Regions from separate parts of the Homo sapiens genome. Here regions 1 and 3 are each linked to region 2. Evidence: promoter capture Hi-C in 16 types of primary human blood cells and fetal thymus (Javierre and others, 2016). All regions are on one chromosome and are shown on one strand. Each heading gives the region's core, a stretch centred on a gene start or on the middle of the fragment in contact. The rest is flanking DNA. Distances are from core to core; before and after follow the strand shown.

Evidence for each region. The method cuts DNA at HindIII sites, captures the fragments that hold promoters and counts their contacts. A CHiCAGO score of 5 or more calls a contact.
Region 1: a contact is called between a fragment that was not itself captured here and the fragment with the promoter of SRBD1 in region 2, in 1 of 17 cell types (monocytes). The highest score is 5.1, in monocytes.
Region 3: a contact is called between a fragment that was not itself captured here and the fragment with the promoter of SRBD1 in region 2, in 6 of 17 cell types (endothelial precursors, M1 macrophages, M2 macrophages and 3 more). The highest score is 9.0, in endothelial precursors.

The regions. Positions count from the first base shown.
Region 1 is chr2:45,892,939-45,895,653 of GRCh38, forward strand. The region is part of intron 2 of PRKCE (protein kinase C epsilon); the gene reads left to right. Among named protein-coding and RNA genes, the nearest start is that of PRKCE-AS1, 220 kb to the left of the region's middle. RefSeq lists silencers at 1,073-1,245, 1,215-1,274. The HindIII fragment of the contact is 8,081 bases long and covers 1-2,715 here.
Region 2 is chr2:45,609,983-45,612,710 of GRCh38, forward strand. It overlaps SRBD1 (S1 RNA binding domain 1), which reads right to left and starts at 1,285. Exons shown (of 21, transcript NM_018079.5): 1 at 1,237-1,285. RefSeq lists an enhancer at 936-1,105. The HindIII fragment of the contact is 4,677 bases long and covers 1-2,668 here.
Region 3 is chr2:45,938,132-45,940,831 of GRCh38, forward strand. The region is part of intron 2 of PRKCE (protein kinase C epsilon); the gene reads left to right. Among named protein-coding and RNA genes, the nearest start is that of PRKCE-AS1, 260 kb to the left of the region's middle. The HindIII fragment of the contact is 1,380 bases long and covers 628-2,007 here.

The sequences.
Region 1 (2,715 bases), core at 23-2,522, 280 kb after region 2:
TCTCCACGGGGCTCAGGGAATTCACCGTGAAAGTCAGCCTGGGCCTCCTGCCCACTTTCCCATTGCCTCATTCCGCTGCACAGAGAAGTGTTGAAAGGGGCTCTCCAAGATGGGCTGACTGTTTGCGACCCTCACAGAACCCTGCAGGCCATATTCACAGCAAAGTTCACATGCAGAAGAATGAGAAGGGAAAGTTAGGAAGGGTCAGAGCACATGCAGCGCTCAGTTGAGTAGTTTGGTGGAAAGAAGTGGCCTGTTCCTTCAGAGAACTTGGGGAGATTTGGTGATAGAAGGGCATGACCTGTGAAAATGACTGCAGTCCGGCAGGGTCAATGTGATGGACTCACAGGGAGAGGCTGTTCCTCAGGATCATCTCCCACAGCACAGCCTGGCTCATGTCTTTTCTTTTCTTTTCTTTTTTTTTTTTTTTTGAGATGAGGTCTCACCCTCTTGACCTCTTGCCCTCTCGCCCAAGCTGGAGTGCAGTGGCGCAATCTCGGCTCACTGCAACCTCTGCCTCCTGGGTTCAGGCAATTCTCCTGCCTCAGCCTCCTGAGTAGCTGGGATTACAGGCACCCGCCACCACACCCAGCTAATTTTTGTATTTTTAGCAGAGACAGAGTTTCACCATGTTGGCCAGGCTGGTCTCCTGACCTCAGGCAATCCGCCCGCCTCAGCCTCCCAAAGTGCTGGGATTACAGGCATGAGCCACCAAGCCCAGCCTGGCTCATGTCTTTCTGCTTGGGGCCTCCCCCAGTGCCCCGCTCTTCCCACCTCATGGGCCACTCTTATTTGCCCACTCATTGATCCCCCTGCAAATACTCACTTGAACTGCAGAGTTTTCTTAATGAACAGCCAGGCTTCCCAACTATGCGGTGAGCTCCTGAGGACCGGGGCTGGTCTGTTCTTTGTATGCTGGAGGGCTCTTTGCACTGTGCCAGGCAGCATATAGGAGGCCTCCTGGAGAGGCTGGGGCTCTATGGCCACAATCCTAGCCTCTCTGTTTCCGGGCAAGGGACTTCTAACTTAGGTCTCAGTTTGCCCATTTGTAAAATGGATATAAATGTACCCCAGATTAAAGAGGTAATGTGTAATGCCCCTGGGCATAGGAGGCACCCAAACACTGTCCTGATCCCTTCCATACCCTGCAGCCCATACACATTGTCGCACAGGGTTGGCACACATTAGGTGTTCAATAGTGCATGTCTGTTGACTAGTGGTAATGAGAGTTGTTGTGGTATCAGTTTTCGAAGATCTCTTAGAGCTGATTTTAGCCAGCAAGCACTCAGTAGCAGAATCACTGGGGGCGGGTTGGGGATAGGGAGTGATTAAGGAAACAGGTTGTTTAATAAAGGAGGATTGAGGAAACTGATTACTTTGAGCAATGAACACCTGGTTAATGCCAGGTAGCGACATCTTAAGGGAAAGGAAGTTGAGTCCAATAAGGAAGCCAATAAAAATCAAGAGGATAAACTTAAGATAGAGGGCAAACTAGATGGAATGCTCTGGGGAGTAGCGTCATTTAGTTAACACTGAAGAATCTCTTAAGATGACACATCTTTGCAGGGTGTGAAGGAAGGTGACCTTGGGCAAGTTACTTAGCTTACCTGAAATGTGGTTGTCTTCACTCTAGGATGAGGGTTGGTGATACATTTTCTGGAGTGGACGTGAGGATGTGTTGACGGTGCATGTGAAACATTCTCCATGATGCCTGGCACACACACACAGTAGTTCCCTTCCACTTCCTCTAAAGTAGAAGAAAGTTATGTGTTTTGCCTTTTGTGTTTTTCATTTGTTTGTTTGCGATGGAGTCTCACCATGTCGCCCAGGCTGGAGTGCAATGACGCGATCTTGGCTCACTGCAACCTCCGCCTCCTGGGTTCAAGCAATTCTCCTGCCCCAGCCTCCCGAGTAGTTGGGATTACAGGTGCCCACCACTGCGCCTGGCTAATTTTTGTATTTTTAGTAGAGACAGGGTTTTGCCATGTTGGCCAGGCTGGTCTCAAACTCCTGACCTCAGGCGATCTGTCTGTCTCAGCCTCCCAAAGTGCTGGGATTACAGGCATCAGCCCCTGTGCCCCCGTTCGTTTGTTTTGAGTGAACACATAAATGTCATCAATGATTCCGTCTCTACCTGGGTAAACTTCAGAACTTAAGCATTAGTTGTGAGCATTTGGCCACGTGGTAGGGAGAATGAAAAGGCGCCCAGGTGTCTCTTGAGAAAGGAAGGAAGTTTTTTTCAGGCGGAGTGGGTTGGATGAGGCACATGTTTCTAGACTACTCTCCATTTTATTTTCTCACTTCTGGCCACTGTCGGTTGTAGAGGTGCCCCTTCAGTACACACACAGCTACGGTAACAGTACCTCTCCATCCACAGTGACTTATATGGACTTAAGGGAGTTTCAGTCGGGGAAGAAAGTGGGACTTTTTCATTAAAACAAGACTCTGCTATACAATGAGGGGAGGCCTAACTGCCTCTCCGCACCCTGATGTCATCTGGCTGGTCCCTGGATGGTGGGGATACATGGTACAGCCACCCAAGGCATGGCAGCCATGTGGTGATTTAAAAAGGAATTAACTGTTAGGACACCAGGAAGTGCTCAATTAATTCTTCTTCAATTTGGTTAGAGGAAAAAAATGCTTTTCTGAGTTTATGCAAAATGATCATGTTTTATTCATTTGGTAGAAGTCACTCTAATGGCATGCAGGGTAGAT
Region 2 (2,728 bases), core at 35-2,534:
CTCTACAGAGGAATATACATTTATTTTCCACCACTCTTAGGCAATGCCACACATTGCATTCATCTCTTTCTGAAGAAGTGATGGCACATAAGAATATTCCTATTCTTCAGTGACTTGGGATTTTTCCCTCCTTTCAAACTATCTTAATCACTGTAGGCACATGAGCATATTCCAAACCAATAATTTGGAGGTTGCTATGATGTTACTAAGGGAAGAGCCACTAAACTAGGACGACTGCAAATCAGGACAAAGGGGCAAAAGGACGTGCACACTAACAAATACTAAATTAAAATTGGAAAAAAAAATTTAAATTCAAGAAGGCAAACAAAGGAGGACAATTTCTTAAGAAGCACCTAAACAAGTTTCCATGAAGGACCAACAGAGTGCTTGAATGTTAGCAGATTCCCAAGTCACAAAAACAAAATACTAGAGCTGAAAGAACCTGAGATCAGACAGTCCCGCTATATTCAGAAATCTGAGACCCAATGAGGTGAAACAGTTTACTCAAAGGGGAAAGATATGTGGCAAAGGACTATAGCCCAGTGCCTGGAACACCAAGACTAGTCTCGTTTCCCATTCCACACACAATATGTTAATGACATGTCACGTGAGGGGTTCGAGGAAAGTTGCCTAGAGAGTTCCCAATTCATTCCTTTCCTCCGGTTACTGAGCGCCTCCTACATGCCAGGCGCACTACAGAAGGTGCAGTTGATTCAGACAGGGCCACCATGACCGTGAAAAGGGTGCTTCCTCTCCCACCTCCGATAATTTTAGGTATAAAAACAATCCAGGTAAATTAGCCGGGTGTGATGACGGGCGCCTGTAGCCCCAGCTACTCGGGAGGCTGAGGCAGGCGAATGGCGTGAATCCGGGAGGCGGAGCTTGCAGTGAGCCGAGATCGCTCCACTACACTCCAGCCTGGGCGACAGAGGGAGACTCCGTCTCAAAAAAAAAAAAAACAGGCTTGCCCAGGCTTTTCTATGTCTGTTATGCGCTAAGAGCTGCAGCAATTTGGCTGAAAAGAGGTGTCACGAGGTAGCTAGGAGGGGTTTTCGGGTGGTCGGTTGTGAGAGACCGCTGACAGTAAAATGTAATGAACTTCTCACTTTTAAAAAAGGGGTGTTATTGCCCAAATGAGCGCTCAGAACTTTTTTAATGGCCCCAAAGATCCCGGAGCCCGGACGCCGGGCTCTTGAGAACCCGCAAGACGACCGCCAAGGCGCACGCACAGCTCACCTTCCCGCCCGGCACGTCAGAAGACCCGAGATTCCGTGAGTGCCACCGCACCTTCCGGTTCCCGCCGGAAGTTTTTCAAACGCCAGAAGGTCCGCCTCGCTTCTTCCGGACCAAGTTAGCCACAGACCTCCAAGGCGCGGCGCTACCGAACGGGGCGGAGCCAGGCTGGACGGAGGCGGGGCTAGAGCGAGGATCCCGAGGGAGCGCCGGGGTGGGGCTGGTTCGTAGAAATGAAAAATGACTTTTTTTTTACGTGTTATTTACCAAGAACACTAAACTCTTAAGCCCACAGATACAGCCAAATAAATTAGATTATAAAAGTAGGGAAATAAGGCTGCTGTTGTCTACATTCGAATTTAGCAGATCAAAACCCCATGGATTTGTTTTAGAAAATTCTAAAAAGCAGCTTTCCACTGCTAATGACTTATTTCCAGGGACTCTGAGTACTGAAGAGCCTAGCAAGTTATTGAAATGACCTGTGACCGTGCCTTGTTGCAGATCTACCGGAAGTGAGCATAGATTTTACTGGATAATTTTTGTGATTGGGGGAAAAAAAAAAGGATTCTTTCTAAATTTAGTAAATCTAATCTTCTATATCTGAGATTGTTGGCCAGGAAAGATCAGTTTCCGAGATTGTTTAGGGATTTTTTTTTCCTTTTAATTAGCACAGTCGTATGTTGCCTTTAGTGATGGTTCCAGAAGGCCTAGAATTGTCTACTACAATCACAGTCTCCTTCACAATTTATGGTCCTGAAGAAATACTAGAGAACACCTTACCGTTCAGGATTGTGGGAAGAGAAACCAGATCATAGAAATCAACAACAATAATGTACTACTTACTATTCACCTACTTTTGATGTTGCATTTGCTACTCAGGTTTATGGTAAGGGGTTGTCTTGGTCAATTTTCTGCTGCTGTAACCAAATACCATAGACTGGTAGATTTATAAAGAAAGAGATTTGTTTGGCTTGTAGTTCTGAAGGCTGGGAAGTCCAAGACAGAGGGCATTATTGTTGTGTCAAAATATGATGGAGGGCATCATACTGGGGTAGGGGTGGGGGAGGCATGTGAACCCAATTGACTCCCGAAATAACTAACCCTCCTGTGATAATGGAATTAACTCATTCATGACCTAATCATTTCCTAAAGGTCCCACCTCTTCATACTATTACAATGACAAGTTTCAACTTGAATTTTTGAAGGGGACATTCCAATCATTGCAGAGGTAGTAAGGGTAAAGGTGAACTAATATACTGCAAAGTCTTTTGACATAAGTCCTGCCCTGGAGGAATTTACGACCAAGAGTAGGAACCAGATACAGCCAGAGGAAACAGACACCCAAGCAAAACAGTCTAGCTTCAAGGGTTGGGTATGCAGGTAGTAGCCACACTACAGTGAGGAGGAGAGTAAGAGTGGGCCAGCAAAGCATTGAAGCTTGACTTTCCTCTCCCCACAAGGGATTTTTGCCTTACAGCTGGGGAAGAAAAAAAAA
Region 3 (2,700 bases), core at 68-2,567, 330 kb after region 2:
AAAGACTGTTCACACCCACATAGAACCATCTGCTCTCTTAGCCTCAGGGCAGGGCTGATGGGGGTGGTATTTAGTCTCTTGGAGGTGGTATTTAGCCCCTTGGAGAGGTGGTGCAAATATAGAAGCTGGTGTAGATGGCTTGGCTGGAGGGGGGCTATCTGGCAATTCAATGCATCTTGTGAGTTTTGGAGAACTAGGGTGACTATATCATTTATCCTCCAAGAAAGGACACAGTTGAGAATGATAAGTGACACTATACATAATTACTCTAAGAAAACAGGCAAAATCTAGGACTATCCTTAGTGACTTGGAACCTACATCCTCCCTACCCACTCTATAGATATCCCTGCATTTTCCACCTTGTGTCTGTGATTGACCTGTTGTGTCCCTTTCAACATTTCAGCGCCCACCCCTCAAACCCCCATCAAGCCTTGCAGCAGCTATTTATTCAGTTAGCAAACTTTTCCTGGCCTCCAATTTGCATTCTTTCCTAACTTATGGGTCCCTTCTCTTTTGCCTAGATGCTGCCTTTCCCTGGCTGTTTGACCATAAACTCATGGTATCATGCCTTATTCAGCAACTCTTAGAACAAAGTAAACAAATGTGCAAGTTTGCTTAAATTGAGAAAGCTTATATTTACAAAGTCGTGCCAGTTTTCTTTCTCACTCATCTACAGTTCTCTCAAACATTGGCCCTATTCCTGATGTATTAGATTGCAAACCCCTGAGGGCAGAGGCTGGGTGTTCTCACCCAGTTACACATGGTGGGCACCTCATTCGTAACTCTTTCTAGCACATTCAGCGCTCTGCCCTCTGGAGTCTTGCGGCTGAGTCAACACTCAGGAATCCAGCGCAGTAGGCTAATTCCACGCTGGCTCTGACCTCATCCAACCCTGCTGTCCCAGTGAAATCCAGCCCACAGCACCCTGCCAGGGTGGAGGAGGTGCCGGGCTATAAATCTCCCCGTTGTTTCTTCTCCCGGAAAATATAAAACCAAAACCAAACATTATACATTATGCCCTCACTCACAGAGTCACTTGGAGGCTTCAATAAGACAAGGGATATGGGTGTGTTTCGGGAAAGAAATTTGATACAAGTGCCAAGTGCTGTTATTGAAGACCTTAGGCATTTATTTTGGTAGCACCCCAATAGTGACAAGAGATGGGCTTGTCTAAAGCCAGCACTGCCACCTTCCCCTGTGTTCACCACTTCATTCCCTGATGTCTTACTGTCAGGCAGTTGGGCCTTGGAGCTGCCCTTCCTTCCGCATGTTGCTCTTTCATCATTTCATACCGTATTCTCCTGTAGAGTAGCATCTGGGCACCTTCCTTTGTCGAGGTTACTAAGACTTTCAAAGAGACATTTCAACCCCAAGTCACTAAGAGAAAATGTAATGCAGCAAGTGATTCCAATGGCAGTTAGTTAATGCACTTTTTTTTTTTTGAGAAGGCGTCTCACTCTATCGCTAGGCTGGAGTGCAGTGGCGCAATCTCAGCTCACTGCAACCTCCGCCTCCTGGGTTCAAGTGATTCTCCTGCCTCAGCCTCCTAAGTAGCTGGGACTACAGGTGCGTGCCACCAGGCCCAGCTAATTTTCGTATTTTTAGTAGAGACGAGGTTTTATCATGTTGACCAGGATGGTCTTGATCTCTTGACCTCATGATCTGCCTGCCTTGGCCTCCCAAAGTGCTGGGATTACAGGCGTGAGCCACCATGCCTGGCCCGCTAATGCACTTTTAAGGCATGCTTGCTGTAAATTGTTTTGGGAGTCTGCCGTCATTTCTGAGATGTGGGTGTAACCCAGCCCCTCACCATACTGGGCTGGCAGTGAATTGCCAGCAAGTGCATTCAGAAATATGAACATTCTCCCCTGCTTCCAGTACAGCCTCAGAGAGTCTCCTTGCTTAGTTGACCTGATGTTTTAGAACTTGTCTCTGCGTCTTCCTGCCTTCTTCTTTTTTGCGCTCACTTACTGGTTCCTGAAATTGGCATCAGCAATGCAAATTGGAAGCTTCCCTCAGACCTCTTTTCCAGTTCATCACCTGACATTTGCTTCAGGTAATCTGGCACCAGTCCTCAGCAAGATGTGTGTCTAGGAGTCTGGTGAGAGGCCAGATTAGGGGTAGCTGTGGCTTCAAGGAGTGGCCTGCAAAGTGGAATTTGGACACAGTGCCCAGAGTAGGCAAGATGAGCTACTGGGATTTGGGAAACAGACCTTCCATCTGTATTCATTTTCTTACCTATGAAGCAAGAACATGATTTAGCTTTAATATTTGATGTATGGATGGCCAGAGTATGTGTTTATAATTTATATGAAAACATTTCAAAATGTTGTTGCTGGTATATGCAGTCAAAAATATTTGGAGACGTCTGGCTTAGTAGGCCCAAGTCAGTCAAAGAAATGGAAGAAGCAGAGAACACGTTAATTGGAGCAAGAAGAAGATGATGACTTGTATCCAGGGCCAGGTACATTCACTGGTCCACACATACACTCTGTTCACACAGCGCACACTCTTGCGCTCACAAGTGTTCACTCTCACGTACCGCATGCATGTCACACATGCTTTCACTCCCACACATGCTTTCAAACACATACATATACCTTTTGCTTAATAACTTACAAGAATTAAAAAGTTGATAGGCACCTGGCCGGGCGTGGTGGCTCATGCCTGTAATCCTAGCACTTTGGGAAGCCAAAGCAG